Linked DNA regions of Homo sapiens: all the other regions are linked to region 3. Evidence: promoter capture Hi-C in 16 types of primary human blood cells and fetal thymus (Javierre and others, 2016). All regions are on one chromosome and are shown on one strand. The core of a region is centred on a gene start or on the middle of the fragment in contact, and the rest is flanking DNA. Distances in the headings are between cores, read along the strand shown.

Region 1 (3,367 bases), core at 430-2,929, 160 kb before region 3:
TAAATCGGTATGCTTTTCTGCTGTTAATCTGTCTTATGCCAAGTGAATTCTCAGGCCTATCTGGGAACCCTAAGAGGTAGAAGTAGAGTGTTGCCTCTCCTATGGTTGCATAATTGCGGGAGGGATATCCCATCATATTTGCAAATCCTGCCATCCGTCACTATGCGCCAGAATCTTGGTGCCCTCGAAGAATTCTCCTTCCCACACCACGTCTGTCACAGTGGGTCTAAGGGATTTGCAGACCTCCCTGTGCTCACTTCTCCAGCCCTTGACTATATGTGGTACTGATTCACTGGTATATGTTAATATTTGTTTTGTGACCTGATGTGTGGTCATAGCCGGTGTTTGTCAATGTTTCATGTATGCCTGAAAAGAACGTGTTTCCTAATTTAGGAGTGCAAAATTATTATTATTATTATTATTTTTCGAGACAGAGTCTCACTCTTTCACCCAGGCTGGAGTGCAGTGGCACAATCTCTGCTCACTGCAACCTCCGCTTCCTGGGTTCAAGAGATTCTCCTGACTCAGCCTCCCAAGTAGTTGGGACTACAGGCACACATCACCACGCACAGCTAATTTTTGTAACTTTTAGTAGAGACAAGATTTCACCATGTTGGCCAGGCTGTTATCAAACTCCTGACCTCGCGTGATCCGCCTGCCTCGGCCTCCCAAAGTGCTGGGATTACAGGCATGAGCCACCACATCCGGCCAAAATTATTTTGATATATAAACATTAGTTTAAGCTTAGGATGGATGTATTTAGTAGATTGCAGAGCCTCTTCACCTCTTGGGCAACAGGTATCATGATAGGAAAGGCCCAGTGTAAGCCCTTGAATTGGCCTCCCTGCTCTCTGGAGCCCTGCCCTGGCCAAGACAGTAAATTAGTTGCAAGAAAATGGAGTGCAAAGACATTGTGTGAGTAAATCTAAGCAGGCATGAGCTATAGCATACATGATATAAGATAAGGTGATGGGTGGTGTCTGGCATACAATAATATAGCTTATAAGGCATGAGGGGACGTTGGAGTTGAAGCTCTCTGCATTCCTAGTGTTGGTAGGAAGTATACATTTGTATTTTGTTAAGCAAAAAATGTTTGTTCAAATTTTTAAAGAAAACACTAAACCACTTGAAATAAAATATATAACTTCCAAAGCAGCAGAGGGGACAGAAAAAAAGAAAGGAGAAAAAGAGGTGGGAAGATCAATCAATCCAAATGGGGGAAAACAAAAGAGGCATAGAAAGAGTAGGGTAAAACCAAAAGTGAAACTGGGAAATATGTCCAAATATATCAGTATTCACAATGAATGTAAATGGACTAAATTTGCCAGTTAAAGACAGACTGCCAGGTTGGGCTTAAAAATAAAAGCCATCTCCCTATTTTTTTTTTTTTTTACAAGCGATAGCATGAAACATGAAAATTCTGCAAAGCTAATAGTCTGAGCGGGGCAAAAAAAAAATGATGTTCTTAGCCAACACAAATCACAAGAAGTATCTGTTGTTATAATGTCAGTCAAAATTGACCCAGAGGAAAGAAAACATTTTTGGAGATAAAGGTGGCCACTGCATAAGGGTAAGAGGGACAATTCACCAGGAAGATAAATCAATTTAAACTTTTTGCATTTAGTGATTTAGCCCCAAAATAATATAAAGAAAAAATTTTAAAAATTCTAAGGAGAAATTTATAAATCCATAATATTGTAGAATACTACTCATTTGATAACTGATATATACAAGATTTGAATTAATTAACATGGTTATACTAATGTCCCCATATCAAAAGAATCCTACACTCCTAAATGAGGAAGCACATTTTTTTTTCAGGCATTCATGGAACATATAAACACTGGCTAAGGCTACACACTAGGCCAGAAGGCCAATCTCAACACATTTCAAAGAATTGATATCATACAGAATATATTCTCTTACCAAACTGTGATAGGGCTAGAAATCAATGGCAAAAAGATGACATCAAGAGAATCTATAGGCAAACTATTTGAACTGATAGGGAAGCTCAGGAAGTTTTCCAGACATAAGATCCATACATCAAAATTCATCGTATTTCTATACACAGAAACACTTAGAATTCTAAAGACACCATTTACAGTGCAAAAACTTCATGCTGCCTAGGGATAGACCTAACAAAACTTGTAAAAGATATTCGTGGAAACAGTTGTGAAACTTACTGAAATATATTTTAAACGGAACCAAATAACTGATGGTATACACCAAATTTCATCAATTCTGAAACATGCATTTTTTCACATTTTTAACATCTCAGAAATCAAATATGTCTTAAAATTAACTGTGTCATAGTTTCGTGTCGTAGATCAATTGGCAGCACTTTCTGTTTCCTCATAGCACATAAAATAATGGTGCATCTTCTACTTGATGGCATCTCGGATTCAATTAAATGAATACCATATCCATGGATGGAAAAGCTGAAAATTGTAAAAAATGATGATTCTCTTCAATGCATTTTAAAACCTCAATGCAATTTTTGGCAAATCACTTCTGAAAATCATTAAATAGCAAAGAGCTGAGAATAGGCAAGGCAATTTTGATAAATAACACAGTGGTGGAGGGGAGGTGTTTTACCCAAATGTCAAGATCTATTCTAAGCTTTAGGAATTGTGCCACATGGCCTTGGCACAGGAATAGACAAATACAGCGGCATAACAGAACAGGGTCCAGGCAGCAGCACATGTATGTATGGAAACTTGATCTATGACAGAGATTGCATTACGGAGCAGAGGAGAAAGACGACTAAATCATTGATACTTGGACAATGGGTTCTCCATATTAAACAAAAGAAAAATAAAATTACATTTCACATCAAACACATAAACTTGGCAGAAAAATAGTCTATATACGAAAAAGTAAAACTTCAGAGTCTTAGAAGGAAATGGGGTAGGAATAGTTTTATGTCCCATGAAAAGATTTCTTTCATAGCACACAGAAGCCAGAAGCCATGAAGGAAAATATTAATAAATTTGACATCACTGTTCAATATCATTAGCCATTGGGGAAATGCAAATTCAAACCACAATGCGCTGCCACTTCACATCTATCTGCTGGGCTGAAAGAAAACACAGTGGAGACTATGAGGCTGATGGGGATGCAGAACAACTGCAACTCTCACGTCTGGCTGATGGGAATGCAAAGTGGTGCAGCCAATGCAAAAAAAAGGCGTCTTGTTGCGTTGCAGTTTTTTCCCATTGGTAAACATCCACCTACCATATATATGATCCAGTGATATGGTTTGGCTGTGTCCCCACCCAAATCTCATCTTGAATTATACCGCCCACAATTTCCATGTGTTGTGGGAGGGACCCATGGGAGGTAATTGAATCATGGGGGTGGATCTTTC
Region 2 (3,124 bases), core at 469-2,968, 180 kb before region 3:
TCTCAGGATGGTGACCCGTGTGCACCTGCCTGTTTAGCTCCTTTTTCTCCTCTGTCCCTACCAACACCAAAGCCTCTTGTGGGCAGAGGCCAGTTTTCCTGATCAAGCCTGGGGTCATGGGGCTGGCCACTGCGTCTGGCACAGAGAATGTGTTCAACTGAGTCTCATCTCATGTAAAACCTAGTACTTGGGCTGGGGTGTAAAATGAGTATTTGCAAAATAATAACTAATCAATTAGAAATATTCAGGGAACATGGCCCCCAAGGACCACCCCCCCTCCACCCCCAACCCCACCACCAGGGAGGCCAGTGGAGATACCACAGAAACTTCTCTTCCTCAGTTTAAAAAAGAACCGCTCCAGCAAATAGCAACACATAAACCAGATGATGGGCCATTCCCAAGGGAAAATGCAATTCCATCACCGCTTGAACAATACTCCCACTTGGAATGCTGGTTCAGACTTTCAGGTCCTAAGAACTGATTTATTGTTTCAAGCTTAAACATCAATCCAGCAAAAGCACTTGACTCACACAGACGGAGTACTTCATAAACAACAGTAAACTCACAAAGCCCAACACTCACATTTTTAAACAGAGCAGACTCCAAAATGTTTATGTACACAAACATATTAATGTATCATATTAAAATTATGACGCTAAATAAGAAGTGATTAAATAATGTCATTAATTCTAATTTAAAACAAGCAGAGAAAAACTTCTTCATAAAAGCACCACTCGCCTCCTCACACGCCGGGGCCCTGGGCGAAGCGGCTGGAGAACAAGCTGCACACACCTGCCTTGGCCTTGGCACAACAGTCGCATTTGCCACTCGACAGCTGTGTTGAAGGCCCTTCTCCCTCCCATTCCTTTCTGCATCACAGAATTCCCTCCACTTGCATTTATGACATCTCCTTAGGAGCATGTAATCTCCAAAATCAGGACCAAGAAGTTCCCAGATGGGGGCAGGGGGTGTCAGGAAACAGGCAATTCCAGAGCACTGGCAAGAACCCCGCAGAGGGGCCAGGCCAGAGGTGGGGCCTCACCCCAGCTCTCCCACCCAAGGCCCGCATTGTGCCATTCACTGGGCTACCTACTCATCCATTCATTCATTCACTCATTCATTTTCTTTCATTCTTCGAGCACCTACACTGCCAAGCACAGGGTACAGAGCAGGCATGAGGCCCTCAGGGCCCCTCAATCCTACAGAGCCCCAGCTAGTAGAAAAGGTGGCATTAAACAACTAAGGTCACAATGAGCTCCTTCCTGAAATTGCACAATGGGATGCTGTTAGAAAGGAGGAAAAAAGCTATTAGGCTAAGTTTAACAGGGGATCAAAGGATGAGAGGATGAGCATGAACTGAGGGGCTGGAGAAGAGGAAGGTAAAGGGAGGCCATTCCAAGGAAGGGGAACAGTGTGTGCAAAGGCCCCGAGGTCAAAGGGGACTTAGAGAGAGCTAGAAAGTAAAGCAGGTGGCAGCTGAAACTCCACAAACACAGCAAGTGCTATCAGATGAGGCTGGTAAAACAGAGGCCAGGATCAGGCAGGCCTTCCAGGGCCCTGAGACCTTAGGATCCTAAGAATACAGGAAAGTCATGCCAGGGTTTCAAGCAAGGGAATGAGAGGTACAAACCTGCTTCTGGTGGAAACCTGGGAGACTGTTTGTAGGATGGGCTGTAGCAGAGCCCGCTCAGACCCCGAGGGTCAGTCCCCACCTTGAAGAGCTTACATGTGAGTTAGAAAAACAAATGCCCCTAAATTCTTCTATTGCAAAGCATATTTATCAACTTGCCAAGGACTTAAAGAGTACTTTTCTTTCCAATGAAGATATCTAAATGTTTTCAAATTACTACTGTAAAAAAGTAATACACGCTTACCAAAAGAATCTCTACAATACCACCATGTATAAAAGAAAAGTGTACCCCGTCTCCTCACCTCTGATGGTTACCTTAGAGACCCATGTACTTAAAACCAGGAGTGGCCCGGGGACTGCTCCAGACCCCGCCTTTCCCTCTTACACTGCACACTTCTGCCTGTCTACACATGGAGGATGCCACAGTGCAGAAATGCCAGCAGGTTTAACAAGTACTCCTTTTATAAATAATGCAGCCCCGACCTCCACACACGTCTGGATATCTACACACTTATCTTCTTTCCTTAGAATAGATTTCAAAATGTAGAACTGTGGGGACAAGGAGAATGGCATTTAAGATTTTGACACTTAAGACTTTTCTAGAGAGCAATTCGGTAATCACTATTTTATGTTTATACATTACATATATAAACTTTTTTGGGGGGGACAGCCCAGGGTCTCGCTGTGTCACTCAGGCTGAAGTGCAGTGGCAAAATCACACCTCACTGCAACCTTGACTTTCCAGGCTCACGTGATTCTCCTGCCACAGCCTCCCAAGTAATGGGGACTACAGGCACACGACGTCATGCCTGATTTTTTTTTTTTTTTTGTAGAGATGAGGGTCTCACTATGTTGCCCAGGCTGGTCTTGAACTCCTGGGCTCAAGTGATCCTCTCACCTTGGCCTCCCAAAGTTCTGGGATTACAGGCATAAGGTACCTCGCCCAGCCCTATTATATTTTATATAATAATACATATGGGTCTCTCCAGAGAGCAAATGATAATAAATAACAGCCAACATTTATATCATGCTTACTACATGCCAGGCCCTATTCAAGGAAATTTCCATACATTAACTTAAACTTTGCAAAAACCTTACAAAATAGAAATTATTATTATGACCAGCAACAGGTATCATCAAACTCGCCAATATGATAGGCATAAAGGGAATCTCCTTCACACTGAATTGATTAGTAATGCTAACCTTTCATCACTGGCACAATGATTCAATGTTCATACGTTCTGCTCATCTTGCAATGGTGATCTCATGCTCTCCTTATTGGTCTGTAAAAGCTCTTTATATATTGACTGTTAAGCTTACACAGGCATAATGTGGTATGTATTTTCTCTCTCGTCTCTTAGCCCGGCTGACGGAGTCTTTTGCCAAAGAGATTTTTTAAAAAACTCTTATCCTATTAAATCTGTCAAGATTTTCTTTAAGGTTTCTGGGTTGGTATTGAAAGAGTAGATTAACTTGGTCCTCAAATGCTTTCTT
Region 3 (3,139 bases), core at 560-3,059:
ATACTGCTGTGGTTATTTTTGAAAATAGCTTCTGCCCTGTTTCCCCAGGTCACTCAGCCAGTGGCCATGAGCTGCCCTGGAGGGACATGAACTCCCAGGGACTTCAGCTGGGAAAAGTAGCTCTGGTGGTCCAAGGTCAGTGGTGTGGGGTATTCTCAGCAAAAGCACAGGGAAGTTGGGGAAGGGGCTCAGAACCCCTCACAGGGACCTGGGGGCTCTGGGCAGAGCACTGATGGCTTCTGCTACGGGGTAATCACACTCGATACAAATGGATCAGACAATTGTCCTGCCCCTTGTGTCTCATGATCACAAGCAGGAAGGGTGAACCCGGTGTCTCCGTGCTTCCGGGAAAGTTGGTGAAGGAAAATACAAACTCAAGAATGGCCAGAGCGTCATTTCTCAAAGGCAGCCAGCGCTACCCCATGTGTCTACTCCAAATCTTAGGTCTCTGACCTCCAAGTCCAAAGCTCAGCCGCCTGCCTTACATCATGCCACCCCTTGTCCATAACTTGACTTTGGTCCTGCAGGGGTTGGAAATGCACCATTTTGTGTACATGCTGGTCCTCATGCATGTAAAGTGAGGATGCCTGATTATCCACTGAATATCTTGTTTAAATAAAGTTTTGCTAATACCTATGTAGATATACTTCAAGATCTTTGTTGGGCCACTAAGATTGGTGTTTGGGTGTAGAGACTGGGGAAGCAACAGGAAAGATTTATTTTTAAGGATGAGCAAGGGATTCCTGGAAGGTCGCCTAAGAGAGCTCCAGATTGTCCTCCTTGAAGCTGCAGCAGGAAGCGGGTTTTATATGTTTGTTGTGTCTGCGTCATGGGATAGACTTTTCTACTGTAAAATGAGATTTTTTATGCTATGCTAAACACAGATGTTTTTCTCCTCCCGCCAACACTTCACAGGCATAGGGACCCCTCCCAATGTCACTGTGAGCTGTGAGCACTGAGATGGCTCCGAAGGCAGGAAGAGAGCTCGCTGGAAGTCCCAGGGGAGCAGGGAGAGAGCCAGGTGCCGCCCAGATGCTACACATGCCCTGTGGCTCTGCAGGGCGTTCTCTGGAAGAGTCAGGCCTCCTCCAGCTCCACCAGCATCATGGAGGCTGCTAAGCTGCCTCAGTTTCCCCAGTGCAGCTGTGACATGGGCCTGAAGGGACGTGGAGAGAGGCAGCTGATGTCTCCGCGCTGGCTGTGTCACTTGTGCTGGGTGGTGACCAGGGGCCACACCCCCATCCAGTCACATTAACTTACATGAAAACCTCCAGGTGATGCCTCCAGGGGCCACTAGGCTCCCTCAGGTCCCTGGACCAAGGCTGTGACCTACACAGATAGATTCTGCCAATTTCTCCTTGAGGGTCATGATGCTCTCCTCCTGGTCCATCTCAGAGTCTTCACTGGAGAAAGAAGTTTCCATCTACAAAGTGTGCTCCATGGAGACATGGCTCACCTCATTCCAGACTTCCATCTCCTTGGAAAAGTGACAAAGGATCTCAGAGGTAGGAGAAAGGCCCTGAAATCCCAGCACAGGCACTCGGGCTATGAAGGGTAGGAGGAGCGGAGCTGGGAGCCTGGGCTTTGAGGCCTTGCGAAATCCCCCTGTGCCACCGCCCAGCCAGACACACGAGCAACCCACCAAGGGGCGGGTGGATGCGGCCTTGGAATTCAGAGTTCCCGTTTGTAGAAACGAAATGTTTATTTCATGATGCAGTTGGGGGTAGAAAATGGGGATAAATCTCTAATTTCTCAGATTTCCAGAAATCGGGATTTTCCCTAAGTACCCCTGGCCTTGAGCTAAATCCCGTCACTGTCTTGGGCTGTGTGCTGACGGGAGCCAGGGCCTTGTAAGGCCCAGACCCTCCTCCTTCTCTCCCGTATTAGTCAAGGTTCTCCAGAGAAATGGAGTTAGAGATGCATTGCTATAAGAAATGGAATGGGCTCGCATGATTACAGAGGCTGAGGGGTCCTACACCCTGTCGTCTGCAAGCTGGAAAGGCAGGAGAGTCTGTGCTGCAGCCCTAGCCAGAGCCTGGAGGCCCGAGAACCAGGCACGCCGACGACAGCACACTTCCAGCCTGAGAGCAAGAGAAGGTCAGTGTTCCAGCTCCAGCAGGCAGGCAGAGGGAGGGTTCTCTCTCCACCTTTGTGTTCTACTCAGGTCTTCAATGGGTTGGATGAGGCCCATCCACATTGCGAGGGCGTCTGCTTCACTGAATCCACCATCGTACCTGCTTCTCTTGGATGCCGTCCGATTGCAGAGACGCTGTTCCCTTGAGGGTTCCTGCCCCACCGTGTGTGCTGGTGCTAGGATGTCTGCCCTGGTCCAGCCCTGCACCCCTGAGTCAGAGGCTCTTACTCTGGGTTCAATTAAGAAGGTTATTTGGCCCCCACACAAAGCTAAGACTTTCACCTTGGCATTTGTTAGGAGTAAGTAATAATTTGAGTTCTATGTGTTTTATTCTTTATCTCATGTCCAACTTGTTCTGAACCTGCATGGGGAAGAGGTGCTCTTAGTATTAAGCACTCTCAAAGGCCCTCAGTTCCTGGAGTGAGGAACTTTGAGAAATAAGAGGTGATGGGGTGAGGAGGGCAGAACACACAGTGAGAGGGCTTCACTGGGCGCGACGTGTGGCTTTGGGCCTTTCGGCTTAGATTCCAAACAGCACGTTTGACCTTGAGGTCTGCAATGGTTCTCCTGGGTGAGGCCTGGACCCCTGTGGCCCGGGCATGAGACCTTGAGCTCAGGCCATGCCATGCCTGACCTTGAACCTTGCTGATCAAGGCTTCGCCCACAGGCGAGGGGTATTCCAGGGAAGCAGGAAGTGTGCAGCAGGCACTGACCAAAGATGTGCCGCCCTCTGCAGAGGGACGAGGGGCCAGGCTGGGCCTTAAGGAAGCCCTGACGTATGCCTATCCTGGTGACCTTGCTCCGGTGGCCACCCTGTCAGGGCCCCTGCAGCCAGATGGAGCCCAGCAGTGCAGAGGCCTCTTTTCAGAGGCAGGTGTGTCTAAGGCTAGCATTTGGTTAAAGAGGATGAAGGCTCTGCTGTACAGGCCTTTTAAACCCTAGGTGGATGTATATTAGTCTGTTTTCACACTACTAATGAAAACATACCCAAGACTGGGTAATTTA
Region 4 (3,412 bases), core at 785-3,284, 240 kb before region 3:
TGGCATGTGCCTGTAATCCCAGGTACTCAGGAGGCTAAGGCACGAGAACTGCTTGAGCCTGGGAGGCGGAGGTTGCAGTGAGTTGAGATTGTGCCACTGCGCTCCAGCCTGGGCAGCAGAGCAAGACTCCATCTCAAAACAAACAAATAAAAAAAAACTAAGACCTCTATACTGAAAATTACAAAATATGATCGAAAGAAATTACAGATGCTCGAAAAAAATAGAGAGACGTAGCATATTCGTAGATTAGAAGACTCCTAATAAACTGATTTCATATGCAAATCAGTGGATCCCAATTGAGACCACAGCAGGTATTCTGTTGAAATTGAAAAGCTGATTTTAAAATTCATATGGAGGCCGGGCGTGGTGGCTCATGCCTGTAATCCCAGCACTTTGGGAGGCCGAGGCAGGTGGATCACAAGGTCAGGAGATCAAGACCATCCTGGCTAACACGGTGAAACACCCCCCTCTACTAAAAAATACAAAAAAATTAGCTGGGCATGGTGGCGTGCACCTGTAGTCCCAGCTGCTGGGGAGGCTAAGGCAGGAGAATGGCGTGAACCTGGGAGGCGGAGCTTGCAGTGAGCCAAGATCGTGCCACTGCACTCCAGCCTGGAAGACAGAGCAAGACTCCATCTCAAAAAAAAAAAAAAAAAAAATCCATATGGAAATGCAAAGGGCTAAAAAGAACCAAAACAAGCTTTGAAAAGTTTTAAAAAGTTGGAAGACCTACATTATTAGATACTATGGTTAACTGCAAATCTATTAGTTAAGACAGTGTTGCACTGGTACACAGATATGCAAACAGACCAATGAACTAGAATAAAGTGCAAAAACAGATCCATTTATATAATTTATTTCACTTATGACAAAGTTGCATTGGATAGCAGAGAAGAAAGGATGACTCTTTTAAATAAATACTGTTAGGCCAACTGAATTTCCAAACGGAAAAGTAACTCTCAATCCCTACCTCACACATAAAAAAAAAAAAATTCCCAGTGGATCACAGATCTAAATGAGTGATAGAACAATGAAGTTTATCAAAAATAATATAGAATATCTTCAAATAGGCATAGATAAAACTATTAAATTGGACTATTAAAATTAAGAGCATCTGTTCAGCAAAAAAAAAAAAAAAAAAAAAACACCATTAAGAAAGGGAAAACGCAGCACACACATAGAAAATAGCAACAAACAACAAAAAGCTCATTCATAGCCAGTGTACAGAAATAGCTCCTACAACTCAGTAAGAAAAATAAAGACAAACCAATTTCTTAAATGAATAGAAACTTCTCCACCAAAGATGACATCTAGTTGGTCAATAAACGTATGAAAAGGTATTCAACATTTTTAGTAATCTGGGAAATACAAATGAAACTACAATAGTTAAAATGAAAAAGAATTACAGTACCATGTATTGGCAAGGACAGAGCAACATTCTATAGGTCAGAGTGTAAATTGGTACAATCAATTTGAAGAACTGTTTGGCACACATACACCTTATCAAAAGAATTGCATACTTATATGAACCAATTGAAATATACAAGAATGTTACAGTAGCATTATACATAATTCCAAACTGGAAACCACCAAAATGTCATCAGCAATTGAACCAATAAATAATTTGTGATATGTTCATACAATGAAATATTATATACCCATTAAATGAAGAAACTACTACTATAAGCCACAATATCAATAAATCTAACATATTGTCAAGTGAAATAATCCAGACAATAAGAATAAGTATTACGTGATTTATATGACGTTCAAAACCAGGAGAAACTCATGTTAGAAGCTAGAGAAGTGGTATCTAGAGGGTGTGAGAGTGAGGGTACAGTAACTGAGAGAGGACATATACGGGGCTTCTGGGTGTTGGGATGTCCCATTTCACAATCTGGGTAGCAGTTACAGGCATCTTCCTTTTGGGAGAGTTCATCAAGCTAAGCAGTCATGATTCTTGCACTTTCCTGGATGCCTGTGATACTTCAGTTAAAAAGTTCACTTAGACATTGGCGGTCTTCAAGGCTACATGTTTATAATAACAACAATGGAAAGGCTGAAAACAAACTCCCTGTCCACCAACAATGACTTGTTAAGTTACTCTACCACATCCATGCACAACCATAAAAAAAAGAGTCCCCAAAGGAAAAACTGTAAAAGCTAGGTGCTAAAGTAACTACAGTATACAGCCATTCATGAACAAACATTAAGCAAAAGAGAGTATCTATAAATGTACTTCATTTTGTGAACTCAAAATTCTTGACATATTTTATTAAAACTTGAGTAGACAGTAGAGAGAGCTGCCATATACCCTACCAATACCACCTGCACATTCCCCGCGATTATTAGCATCCTACCTTACTACGGTATGTTAGTCACAATTGGGAACCAATACTGACATTACTGTCATTAACTAAAATTCTAGAGTTTAGGATTTCCTGAAGTTTCCCACTAATGTCTTTTACTGTATTCCAAGATCCATCCAGGATCCCATCCAGGAATTCCACATCACACTTAGGTGTCGCATGTCCTGAGATCCCTCCTGGTGGTGACAGTTTCTCAAAGGATGCTTGTTTCTGATGACCTTGGCATATCGAGTGGGCCTGGCAAGAGTAGACTGTAGGAAGGGTGTCTACTGGAATTTGTCTGATGTTTTTCCCATGGTTGGACTGGGGCTATGGGTTACTGAGAGGAAGACCACGGGGGAAAGTGCCATTCTCATCATATGAATTGATTTTTAAACACATGGACTAGAATTAACACACACCCACTCCACTAAACTGGTTTTACTGAACAGCAGGTTGTCACACAAACGGCTCCAAGGGAGGGAGTGGAGGAAATGGCAAGGCTCGGAGACACTGCTGTCAGATGCACGTGAGACTCAGCTGTACTCACCGGCGAAATAAACGTTTTGGCTCCGGGAAGGCAGAAAACGTCCACTTTGAGAGAAACTCACACCCTGCATAAGCCACTAACCGGTGGGGACTCCCACGCCACACATCGCACCAATACAAGCTCCATTCACAGAAAACCCCACTGCAAGTCGGTTATCGCTGCAAACTTCCTCTCTCTAACAGGAAGAAATCAGGACTCACGGGAGTAAGCAAAATGAGGCCTAAATCCGGCAAGCGAGGAAATCAAACACTTCCATCTTAATCACATATTATAGCGATGAGCAACCGAGTCAGATGGCCGCTGCTGGGTTTGACATTTTGTGGCTCTTCCTTTCCTCTGAGCTCCCAACTTGCTTCCAAGAATGAGGATAAATTAACATCCACATATCTGACCAGAGCCAACTTCTGCTCCCAAACATACGGCGACGGGGGAGACAGGATGCACCCAAAGTGGCCCCTGGCTGTGCGTGACAAAGCTTTCCAGGAACAGAGCGAGCCAGGCAGGACAACCGGCT

The links. Contacts are between HindIII fragments. The CHiCAGO score rates a contact against its expected background, and 5 or more counts as called.
Region 1: a contact is called between a fragment that was not itself captured here and the fragment with the promoter of LINC02991 in region 3, in 1 of 17 cell types (neutrophils). The highest score is 5.4, in neutrophils.
Region 2: a contact is called between a fragment that was not itself captured here and the fragment with the promoter of LINC02991 in region 3, in 1 of 17 cell types (M0 macrophages). The highest score is 5.7, in M0 macrophages.
Region 4: a fragment that was not itself captured here is called in contact with the fragment with the promoter of LINC02991 in region 3 in 1 of 17 cell types (neutrophils); the score reaches 5.1 in neutrophils.

Annotation. Positions count from the first base shown.
Region 1 is chr2:239,413,144-239,416,510 of GRCh38, forward strand. No RefSeq gene overlaps it. Among named protein-coding and RNA genes, the nearest start is that of HDAC4-AS1, 13 kb to the left of the region's middle. The HindIII fragment of the contact is 1,876 bases long and covers 742-2,617 here.
Region 2 is chr2:239,393,697-239,396,820 of GRCh38, forward strand. The region is part of intron 1 of HDAC4 (histone deacetylase 4); the gene reads right to left. Among named protein-coding and RNA genes, the nearest start is that of HDAC4, 5.8 kb to the right of the region's middle. The HindIII fragment of the contact is 2,450 bases long and covers 494-2,943 here.
Region 3 is chr2:239,576,492-239,579,630 of GRCh38, forward strand. It overlaps LINC02991 (long intergenic non-protein coding RNA 2991), which reads left to right and starts at 1,810. Exons shown (of 2, transcript NR_172921.1): 1 at 1,810-2,433. The HindIII fragment of the contact is 7,503 bases long and covers 1-3,139 here.
Region 4 is chr2:239,334,386-239,337,797 of GRCh38, forward strand. All of the region lies in intron 2 of HDAC4 (histone deacetylase 4), which reads right to left. Among named protein-coding and RNA genes, the nearest start is that of MIR2467, 16 kb to the right of the region's middle. The HindIII fragment of the contact is 2,673 bases long and covers 699-3,371 here.